2 separate regions of the Homo sapiens genome follow, and region 2 is linked to region 1. Evidence: promoter capture Hi-C in 16 types of primary human blood cells and fetal thymus (Javierre and others, 2016). All regions are on one chromosome and are shown on one strand. Each heading gives the region's core, a stretch centred on a gene start or on the middle of the fragment in contact. The rest is flanking DNA. Distances are from core to core; before and after follow the strand shown.

Region 1 (6,006 bases), core at 533-3,032:
AGGGAACCCTGCGTGCAGATGTGTAACTGCCATGAATGCGGTTTTGCAAGTTTTGCCACATCCAGCCCCTGACACAAACAGGGCTGATGAGGGCTGTGGAGACCAGGAGGGAAGCAGGGAGCTTCCTCCGGGTGGGGCTGCCTTGGGGCACAGGGGGCAGTAAGCTGGCCAACAGAAGCTGACTCATGCCCCCCAACCCCACCATACAGATGTGGAAACTAAGGCCAGAGGGACAGAGCAGCCTCCCACGTCCTGGGGTGAACACCACACAGGATCAGTGGCCTCCGCGACGGCTGGTAGGAGGGAAGTAGGCAAGGAGAGAGGGATGTACTCATCTGGATGGGATGGCCACTGCCTTCCCAGACTGTCCCAAGCTTGGGACATTCTGATCCCCCTGCAGTCCCCAGGAAGCGGAGCCTCAGAGTCCTCTGGCTTCTAGTCCCTCCTGCAGGCCCTGGGATGGCTCCTCATGGAGAAACCAGGTTCCCAGTCCCCGGCTGGGCACAGATGGTACCGGGATGGCTGAGGCCATGACCCTACCCCTGTGAGGGGCACAGCTCAAAGGGCTCTGGCCTCATCCCCTGATACCAACCACCATGGGGTTAATCCTGGGGTCGGTGAATTAGGGAAAGCCAGGTAGCCTCTGGGCAGCACAAGCCAGGAGCACTACTGTCCTATGGGTTAGGAGAGGCCCGGGGGAGTGGGTGCCAGACCGGGGCAGCATCACCTCCTACCCAGCTAGCCCGAAAGCTGGTGAACCGTGTGCACCCTCCCCATTGCACCGGTAAAGGGACAGATGCCCCTGCCAGCCCCAGGAGAGCACCTAGTCGCGCACACGGAGTCCCCAGGCACACCTCTGAAGGGGATACACGCTCATCCCTGTGGTGTAGTGTGGGGCTCCGACACGCCACCCCTACACTCCAGGCCGTGTACACACATCACACCGTGCCGGGCACGGGCGGCATCTGCACACCCGCCACATGTGTACGCGTTGATCACACACCAAACGCACCAGGGGGCTGCGCGTTCACACGCGCGCCAACGTGCCCGCAGGTCCGCCACCTCCCCGGTGCCCGGCCGACGCCGTGGCGCGGTGCGTGCGTAAACACAAATGCACATGGACGTGTGCGCACGCCGCCGACCGCCCACCAGGCACGCGGACCCTCGGACCACTCGCCCGGAGCGGCTCCGCCCTCCGGCCCAGCTCTGCCGAGGCCTGGGGCGTCCTCCTTCCGGCCGCCCGCCCGACTGTCCGTCTGCACCGCGGGGCCGCCCGGCCCTCGGCCGTTACCCGGACAAAAGGGGTGGGGGGGGTCCCCGTCTCGATCCCGGGGGACTCGCGGCCCCGCGGGGGCGGCGTATCCCCGACCGGTGGCCCGGTTCCCACCTCCGCCCGCCGCGAGCCCTTGGGATCCGGACGCCGGGCACCGCCGTCGGGAAAGCGGGTCGGGTCTGCGGCCCGGAGGGGGCGCACAGCCGGCACGCGTCCACGCCGTCCGCCCCCGCCCGGCGGCCACGCGGGACACACTCCGCCCGTGGCCCCGGCCCTCGCCCGGCTCCGGCGCCGCGCACCTCGAACTGCCAGTGGGCCGCCTGCAGCAGTTGCTTCGCCTGGTCGGCCGCGCAGCCCGCCGTCAGCACGAACTGGTTGATCATGACCTGGTGCTTGAGCTCGTCCATGTTCACGGACATGGCGCCGCCGCGCTGCCCGCTCCGGCCTCCCTCCTCCGCCCGCGCCTCCGCCTCACGCGTCCACCATTAGCGAGCCGGCTCCGGCTAATACAAATATTTACTGTGCGGCTCTGACTCACCGCGCCTCGCCTCGCTCCGCCGGCGCCGCGGCATGCTGGGATATGTAGTCCCCACGGTGCGCCGGGCGCCCCGGGGGAGCGGGGCCGGCACCCTAGGGGACGCGAAGCCCGGGAAGGGGCGTGTCTGAGCACCGAGCGCCCGCTGTGCGGATGTCCGGGCCGTAACCCGAGCCGGGCGCGTCCACGTCGTCCTCGTTGCTCTCGGTGGCACCCGTGCCCCTGCTCTGGCACGGATGGGGGTCCGCTGGCGGGGGCCACGTCTGTGCATGGGCGCAAATGCCTGACCACAGGATCTTGGCCAAGGCCTGGGGACCGTGTCTGAACTGTGAGCGCCTACTGTGTGTGGATGCCCGGGCCGTGACCAGGGTTGGGGGAGTCCACGTCGCCCTCGTTGCTCTGGGTGGCACCCGGCCCCTGCTCTGGCACGGATGGAGGTCCGCAGGCGGGGGCCTCAGGTTCGTGCATAGGCGTTTTTGCCAAGGCCCAGGAACGGTGTCTGAAAACTGAGTGCCTAATGTGTGCAGGCGCCTGAGCTGGGACCAGAGCCAGTCACGTCCACGTCGCCCTCGTTGCTCTCGGTGGCACCCACGCCCCTGCTCTGGCGGGAATTAGGAGCCCAGAGGCCGGGGCCACAGATCTGTGCATGGGCGCAAACGCCAGGCCACAGACGTCTTTGCCATGCCCCGGGGACTGTGACTGAACGCTAAGTGCCTACTGTGCGCAGCTGTCCAGACCGTGACCAGAGCCAGGCACGTCCATGTCGCCCTCATTGCTCTCGGTGGCACCCGTGCCCCTGCTCTGGCACGAATTGGGGTCCCAAGGTGGGGCATACAGATCTGTGCATGGGCGCAAACGCCGGGCCACAGGCGTCTTTGCTAAGACCTAGGGACCCTGAACCCCTCTGTGATTGGCATCGCTCTGTGTTAAATAGTAGGCACGCCCTTAAGAGAGGGGTCTCTAGGAATTTTGGCCCAAATCGGCTGGTCTAGGCTGAAAGGCCCGGCACACTGTAGGCGCCGACAAATACTCGTTCAGTGAATGAATGAATGAGCCACTTAAAAGCTCCGCCGCACGTCACCGCCTATAGCTAGCCTCCTAGCTCTCCTCACTCAATCTCTCATCGCCCACTCGTGGCATGGGTCCTTCCTAGCCTGGCTCTGGGCCTGCCCCACTGTAGCCCCATGACCCTCTGGACGGCGCCTGGGACAGGCTGGCGGGGCCAGCAGCCTCTGGTGCTTCGGGGTCCCCCTCCCAGCAGTTCTCCCGCTTTCCCACGCAAAATCTCGTGCTCTTTGCCGGAAATCTCGGCCCTTAGCGGGCGGGCGCCAAGGCCCGGCAGAGCCAGTTCCGGAGCGGCCCCAAACTCCCTTTCCCAGAATGCCTCGGTTTATTTGCATCGTTTGGTCCCGGTGACGTCAGCTGAGTGAGGTCGTGCCTCGACCAATGGACAGCCTCGGGGTGTTAGGACCTGGCCATATAAGGTAAACAAAGCTGGTCGCCCAATGAAGAGGCGGCGGGGGCGGGCGCTGGGCCGGGGAGGCCGGGGGCGGAGCCGGGGGCGGGGCGACCGGGCGGTGTTTACAGACCGGCACATGGCGCTTCCGGTTGACGTTGCTGACAGCTAGTGAGGCTTTAGCCCGCTTCGAGCGCCCGGGGGCGGTAAGGCGCGATCATAGCAGCTCTAGGTGACCTTGGTCCGGCTCCTTGCGCCCCCTGGCCCCAGCCTCCTTCGTTGAGACACTATTTGTTGAGTCTTTCCTCTTTTCCTGGCCCTGACCTAGCGTGGGGCGACAGAAGAGCAATAGCCGGGTGGGGGCTGTGAGAACGGCTGGGGTTGGGAGCGAATTTCGGAAACCCGGAGGACGAGTATAGCCTTGCAAGATGGAAAATGCCCTCCCGGGCTGGCGCGGTGGCCTGTAATCCCACCTACTCGGGGTCCGAGGAGGGAGGATTGCCTAGGCCCAGGACTTTGAGAACACGCCTCTACAGAGATTTACATTTTAAGAAAATTAGCTGAGTTCGGGTCGGGCGCAGTGGCTCACGCCTGTAATCCCAGCACTTTGGGAGGCCGAGGCTGGCGGATCACCTGAGGTCAGGAATTCGAGACCAGCCTGACCAAAACGGCGAAACCCGTTCTCTACTAAAAATACAAACACTAGCCGGGCGTGGTGGCAGTCGCCTGTAATCCCAGCTACTCCAGAAGCTGAGGCAGGAGAATCGCTTGAACCCAGGAGGCGGAGGTTGCAGTGAGCCGCGATCGCGCCACTGCCCTGCAGCCTGGGCCACAGAGCAAGACTCTGTCTCAAAAAAAAAAACCAAAAAACAAAGCAACAACAAAAAAACAGAGAATTAGCTGGGTTCCATGGCTCACACCTGTAAGTAATCTCAACACTTTAGGAGGCCGAGATGGGCGCGGATCACTAGAGTCCAGGAGTTTGCGACCAGTCTGGGCAACATAGTGAGACCCTCGTCTCTACAAAAAATAAAAAATAAAAAAAATTGGCCGGGCGCCGTGGCTCACGCTTGTAATCCTAGCGCTTTGGGAGGCCGAGGCGGGCAGATCCCTTGAGGTTAGGAGTTCCAGACCAGCCTGGTCAAACCGTCTCTACTAAAAATACAAAAATTAGCCGGACATGGTGGCACACGCCTGTAGTGCCAGCTACTGGGGAAGCTGAGGCAGGAGAATTGCTTGAACTCAGGAGGCGGAGGCTGCAGTGAGCTGAGATCGCGCCATTGCATTCCAGCCTAGACGACAGAGCAAGACTGTCTCAAGAAAAAAAAAAAAATTCTGGAGTCCCAGCTACAGATTGAGGTAGGAGGATTGCTTGAGCCTGGGAAGTCAGAGGCTGCAGTGAGCCGTGATTGTGCCTGGGGAACAGCGCAAGATCCTGTCTCCAAAAAATAAAAAATGCCCTAGGGAGGCCGGCACTGGCCCTGGGGGTGAGTTAGGGGATACTGAAATGTGTAAACAGATCTGATCCCTTGGACACGTTGGGATCACTGTGGCTGTGGCTGTGCTGGGATCAGATGGTGGTGGAGAGCTCCGGTCTGAACTAGGCGACGTTCTTGATGTGTCTGGTTCCAGGGGAGTCTGCCCTGCCTTCGGAATTGGATGGAATGGAGGGAATTGCCTCAAGCTGCGGCTCCTACCCGGGCCCCTCAAGCCTGACCAAGGACTCTCCCATTGGGTGGTGGGAGGAGGACAGTAGGGGAACTAGTGGACTGGACCTGAAATGTCCTGGGGTGGGAGGGTAGGGTGGTGGGGAAGGCTTGGGGCACTGAGATAGCGGAGAGGGCTGGGGAGGGAAGGGAGTCAGGGTGCAGTGGAGTTGGTCTCTGAGGGCTGGGGCTGGGAGCCTGGCCTATAGGCAAGGGGCGGACACTGAGTCTTGGCTTTTCCCAGGCAGGCACTTAGCCTCGGCAGAAGCCATCTGACCACGGGAAATACAGTTTAAAATTCTTTCCTGCTGTTTGCGGATCACTTAGGGGCCACAGTATTTTGTAAACCCTGATGGTTCCAAGAGATGTTTGCTCTTGCTAAGAGTTGCTCCTTAACCTTTGCAAAGCTCATATGCATGAATTAATATGGGCAAAGTGCTCCACAGGGTAGGCCCACAGTAAAAACCAGCTCTGAATATGATTCCCGCTATAATAATTACCACTAGGACGACAACACAGTGTGGTAGAAGGTGGGCAGGTTCGGGAGCTAGACAGACCTGGGTGTCAGGCTTGACTCCGCTGCTTAATGACTTAATGCTTAATGTTGAGCGAGTTACCAGAGCTCTGGGCTTCACTTTCTCACTGGCGGGGCTGAGTTCTGGCCTCACTGCTGTGGAAGATTAATGCCTGTAAAATGCAGAGTGCAGGGCCTGGTGCTATTTGCACGGTTCTAGTGCTCTCACCTGTTTGCCTCCATCTGGACCACTCTGGGAAGCCCTAGCCCTATTTTACAGATAAAACTGAGGCTGGAATCCAGCCTTACCCTCTGACATTCAGAACCTGTGGAGAAGAGCGGGCACCCATGGTGCATTTCTGGCAAGGGAGGAGGGACACTGTCCCGGCAGGGCCCACTAAGGGCTTGCCTTGCATAGGGAGGCAGGAAGTGCCTTCACCCCTCCTTCCACCATCGTCCAGGTACCACTCAGCTGCCTGCCCAGGCTTGCCCAGCTCAGGAGGATCTCTCTCAGGCCAGCAG
Region 2 (5,449 bases), core at 1,935-4,434, 200 kb before region 1:
TCAAGAGTAAAGAAGTATGTGGTGAGAGCCAGGGTTCCACCTCCATGCATGCCTAAAGCAAGAGGTGGGGCATAATCTGGGGAACTCTAGCTCACAGCTGCACCATTCGAGATGCATTCTTTTATTTACTTTTTTTTTCTTTTTGAGACAGGGTCTCACTCTGTCACCCAGGCTAGAGTGCAGTGGCGCGATCTTGGATCACTGCAATCTCTGCCTCTTGGGTTCAAGTGATCCTCCTGCCTCAGCCTCCTGAGTAGCTGGGATTACAGGCGCCCAACACCAAGCCCAGCTAATTTTTGTATTGTTAGTAGAGATGGGGTTTCACCATGTTGGCCAGGCTGGTCTCGAACTCCTGGCCTCAAGTGATCTGCCTGCCTTGGTCTCCCAAAGTGCTGGGATTACAGGCATGAGCCTCCGCCCCCAGCCGTGTTGTGTTACTTCAAATCAAACTCTGTCCCCACTCACGAAGTCCCTTAGGAAATGTAAAATGTGGGCCAGGTGCGGTGGTTCATGCCTGTAATCCCAGCACTTTGGGAGGCTGAGGCAGACAGATCATCCTGAGGTCAGAAGTTCGAAACCAGCCTGGCCAACATGGTGAAACCTTATCTCTACTAAAAATACAAAAATTATCCAGGCATGGTGGCGGGCACCTACATACAATTCCAGCTACTCAGGAGGCTGAGGGAGGAGAATCACTTGAACCTGGGAGGCGGAAGTTGCAGTGAGCCGAGATCATGCCACTGCACTCCTGCCTGGGCAACAGAGCGAGACTCCATCTCAAAAAAAAAAAAAAAAAGAAAATGCAAAATGTGGCCAGGCCTCCTCCAAGTACCCGGAGAAAAACACCCAAGCTCAGAGAGGGGAACCACCAAGGCCTGGCCTCATCAGGACACACCTTTCCACAAAGTCTCATAAGTCAGTAAAAGAAACACCCCCACCCAAGGGGAGGCAGAGGAGCACGTTTCTGAAACTAAGATCTGCAAGGTCCACACATTTTCTCTGTTGTCAAAGCACCGCTCAGCACTCCTTCCTGCCCTCGATGACAGGACACCCATGTTTCCCACTCCACCCACCCATAGCACCCCGGAAACCACCTCCACCACCTGAAGTTTCTATATCAGTGTTCACCTGCCATGGTTACAGCATCAGTCCCACCCTATTATTTCTCCCTCCTGATTCATGTTTACTGTATAAACACAGTGACTGCAAATATCTCTGAAAAGAACAGATCACCTGTTCTCCCGCCTCCCTAACATAAACTGTTTTAAGCTCTCCCTACAGTCTGTAGTTCCATGCCTATCTGTTTATGTTGCTGGACTAAGGCCCACCCAGGAGCAAGAATTAGGGCCCCTCAAGTATTCTCCAGACCCCTCCAAGCAGTACTTAACTGCACTCAGAGCCACCGGCTGTCTTGATGCAAACCTAGGTACCTCCTCCTAACTTTTCTTGTTTGTTTTTTTCTTTTTTTGAGACAGTGTCTCACTCTATTGCCCAGGCTGGTGTGTAGTGGCACAATCTCGGCTCACTGCAACCTCCACTTCCTCGGCTCAAGAGATCCTCCAACCTCAGCCTCCCAAGTAGCTGGGACCACGGGAGTGAGTCACCACACCTGGCTAATTTTTTTTTCTTTAACTTGTTGTTCAGAGGGGTTTCGCAATGTTGCCCAGGCTGGTCTCGAACTCCTGAGCTCAAAGCAGTCCACCCAAAGTACTGGGATTACCGTGAGTCATGGTATCCAGCCCCTCCCCCTAACTTTTCAATGGCTCTGCACTGCAATCAGAATAAAACCCAACTTCTTCCGGTGGCCCTTGGGTTCTGCAGGACCACTCTGGACTCATCTGTCACCATACTGCTCCGGCCATCCCCTCCATCCACTCATGCTCACTTTCCATTTCTCCACCAGGCTCTTTCTCAATTCTCACCCTTCTGGCCTCAGCTAAAATGCCATCTACTCCAGGCAGCCTTTCCTGACCACGCTACTGAGACTGGCCCCCTCCATTCTCCATCCCAGTCCCTCATGTGTGTTCTTCAATGTCGTTATGAAAACCTCCAATGCTCTTGTTTGTCTGCTTGCTGTCTCCCTCATGAGGCTACAAGTGCCACAGGGGAAGGAAAATGCCGTTGTGTTCACCGGGATGTCTCCAGCAGCTTAGCACAGCATAAAGTGGAAGCAGAGGAAATATAGTCCACACTACAAAAACGGAACCTCTACCCAGACTGCCCTGACTTGCTCTGGGACCCTGATGGGGTCACTTGAGGTCAACTCCTAGGCCCAGTTATCGGAGGACACTCCCAGGCCTTACAAATAACACGGAAAGCGGAAGAGCAGAGCTGACATCGTTTCCAAGGCGCACCCCTCATCAGTCCTCCTGCCGTTTCGGGGGTCCGAAGGGTCTCCCGGCACCTGGCTCAGCAATTCTTTGGGGCTCCACCTGCTCAGGCTTCCCCAGGCCCCACCCAGCCGTGGCAGCATCACCGAGATAAAGAAAGAGCTTGCGCCAGCGGCGAGAGGAGGAAGCACCGGCGGAAACCCGAGGGAGGGGCGCGTGCGGCCGAGGGGCTCCCTCCCCACCACTGACACACTTGGGCTCGCCGGGGCCAGAGGAGAGAGGGGCGTCTCCCCACAGCCCAGCCAGGGGCAGGGGCGACCCGGGGCGGCAGGGAGGAGGAGCCAGGCGCCGGCAGCGCCCCGAGCCCCGGCTCCCGGCGAGGCCGACCGGAAGCTGGGAAGGCAGGCGGCCTCGCAGGCCTGGGCCCCGGCTAGGAGGGCTGCGCCGCCTCGGGGGTCCCGGGGCGAGGTGGGCGAGGCGGGCAGACCGCCAGGGTCACCGAGCGCCAGAGCGAGTCACGGGAGTGCCGGACTCTGCCCTCCGGCGGCGACGAAACGGCCCGGACGCCGGGGCCCTGGCCTGAAGGGGGGTTCCCCGGGGATGGAGGTCTCGGGGTTCCAGACGGCCCTGGAGGGCACCCCTGTGGGGTCCGGGCAGGGGGAGGGGCAGCCGGACGGGGCCCGAGGCGACAGCGCCCGGTCCTCGGGCCGGACTCACCTCGCGGCGGGGCGGCCGAGCCTCGGTGTGCCGGAACTTGGACACCCTGAAGCGGTTCATGGCGACGGGCACGGCGGCGGACGCGTCTTCGAGGACCCCGGGCGTCGGGTCTCAGGTGCACGCTGAGCAACCGCGACTCCCGCTGCCTCGGCCCCACCCGGGACCCAATGCCGCGGTCACGCCCCCGGCGCGCCCCACTGCCAATCGCAGCCGTCTCCGGCCCCCTGGGCCACGCCCCCAAGCCCCTCTCCTTTCGCGCGCGCACCACCGGTCCCGCCTCCCGGCCAATCCAGGTACGGCCGCCCCGCGAGGCCACGCCCTGATACCGAGGGGACGGACTGGCGCGGGTGGGAGGTCACGTGGGGCGCAGCTGTCAGCCCACGTCTCCTGCGGTGCTTGCTTGCGTGGGGTCTCGGCTGCAGCATTCGCGATTTTGTGTGCAGGATTTGCTGTGGAGTCTTTGCGGTGTACCTAGCACGCCTTCCAGCACTATCTACCTCTTCCTGTAGAGAGGGGAGAAATTAGCTCCATTTCAGAGACAGGAAACCCCCGGCTAAAGGAGAGTGTAAACTGTCGGTCCCCAGGTCACACCAGTGGTAAGAGGCAGAGGGGGAACAGGGGCCCAGGTCTAAAGCAAATCCCTGTCCACCGGGCCTACTCAAAAGCCTCTGCATCCGGCCAGGCGCTCTGCATCCGGCCAGGCGCGGTGGCTCAGGTCTGTAATCCCGAACTTTGGGAGACTGAGGCAGGAGTATCCCTTGAGCCCAAGAGGTCGAGGCTGCAGTTATCTGTGACCGTGCCACTGCACTCCAGCCTGGGAGACAGAAAGAGACCCTGCCTCTAAAAATAATAATAATAATAGCTTTTAATTTTTCTTTAGTATTTATTCATTTATTTGACACGGAGTCCCTGTCACCCAGGCTGGAGTGCAGTGGCGCGATCTCAGCTCACTGCACCCTCTGCCTCGCGGGTTCAAGCAATTCTCTTGCCTCAGCCTCCCGAATAGCTGGGATTACAGGCGCCTGCCACCGCGCCCAACTAATTTTTTATTTTTAGTAAGAGACGGGGTTTCACCATGATGGTCAGGCTGGTCTCGAACGAGACTCAAGCAGTCCTCCCAACTTGGCCTGCCAAAGTGTGGGGATTATAGGAATGAGCCAACGCACCCAGCTGATTCTTGCATTTCTAAGGTTTGAAAAGCAATGCTTACATTTTATCTTAGTTCGGGCAGAAGTGTATTTACTGTGAACCAAAGTCACTTGTGGTTTATTGAAAAGGCTTTTTGTTTGTTTGTTTTGAGACAGAGTCTCACTCTGTTGCCCAGGCTGGAGTGCAGTGGTGTCATCTCAGCTCACTGCAACCTCCACCTCCTGAGTTCAAGCGATTCTCCTGCTTCAGCCTCCCAAGCAGCTGGGATTACAGGTGTGCGCCACTACTCCTAATTTTTGTATTTTTAGTAGAGATGGGATTTTGCCATGTTGGCCAGGCTGGTCTCAAACTCCTGACCTCAAGTGATCCACCTGCCTCAGCCTCCCAAAGTGCTGGGATTAGAGGCATAAGCCACTGCGCCCAGTCCAAAAAGGTTTTTAGAAAATCATCAGGTTGGCCGGGCGCGGTAGCTCACGCCTGTAATCCCAGCACTTTGGGAGGCCAAGGTGGGTGGATCACCAGGTCAGGAGTTCAAGACCAGCCTGGCCAAGATGGTGAAACCCTGTCTGTCCTAAAAATATAAAAATTAGCTGGGCGTGGTGGTGGGTGCTTGTAATCCCAGCTACTTGGGAGGCTGAGGCAGAGAACTGCTTGAACCCGGGAGGCGGAGGTTGCAGTGAGTCGAGATCGTGCCATTGAACTCCAGCTTGGGTGACAGGGCGAGACTCTGTCTCAAAAAAAAAAAAAAAAAGAAAAAAAAAGAAAATCATCAAGTGGCTGGGCATGGTGGCTCACGCCTATAATCCCAGCACTTTGGGAGGCCGAGGTGGGTGGATCACCTGAGGTCAGGAGTTCAAGACCAGCCTGGCCACCATGGTGAAACCCCGTCTCTACTAAAAATACAAGGCGTGGTGGCAGGTGCCTGTAATCCCAGCTACTCGGGAGGCTGTGGCAGGAGAATCACTTGAACCCGGGAGGTGGAGGTTGCAATGAGCCGAGATCATGCCATTGCACTCCAGTATGGGAGACAAAAGCGAGATTTTGTCTCAAAAAAAAAAAGAAAGAAAGAAAATCATCAGGACAGTGGTCCCACTGGATCCTAGGCGACCGAGGCACAGCTCATCATCCCCTTTCATAGGGAACTGCACCTGCTACAGACATCACAGACCAGAACATCTGGACCACACATTCCTCACCCACTTGGAATTGTCCTATACTCTGTGTGAAGTAAAGAAAATGCTATACTTAAGACA

Evidence for each region. The method cuts DNA at HindIII sites, captures the fragments that hold promoters and counts their contacts. A CHiCAGO score of 5 or more calls a contact.
Region 2: the fragment with the promoter of CORO7 here is called in contact with the fragment with the promoter of UBALD1 in region 1 in 2 of 17 cell types (neutrophils and fetal thymus); the score reaches 8.5 in neutrophils.

The regions. Positions count from the first base shown.
Region 1 is chr16:4,613,106-4,619,111 of GRCh38, forward strand. It overlaps UBALD1 (UBA like domain containing 1), which reads right to left and starts at 1,783. Exons shown (of 3, transcript NM_145253.3): 1 at 1,573-1,783. The coding sequence starts at 1,692. RefSeq lists silencers at 964-1,133, 1,214-1,323, 1,364-1,463, 1,804-2,043, 3,287-3,516 and enhancers at 1,995-2,567, 2,568-3,139, 2,977-3,236. The HindIII fragment of the contact is 13,740 bases long and covers 373-6,006 here.
Region 2 is chr16:4,413,412-4,418,860 of GRCh38, forward strand. CORO7 (coronin 7) reads right to left here and starts at 3,185. Exons shown (of 28, transcript NM_024535.5): 1 at 3,048-3,185. The coding sequence starts at 3,107. CORO7-PAM16 (CORO7-PAM16 readthrough) reads right to left here and starts at 3,185. Exons shown (of 31, transcript NM_001201479.2): 1 at 3,048-3,185. The coding sequence starts at 3,107. It overlaps LOC124903635 (a long non-coding RNA gene), which reads right to left. Exons shown (of 3, transcript XR_007064963.1): 3 at 3,314-3,550. The HindIII fragment of the contact is 33,533 bases long and covers 1-5,449 here.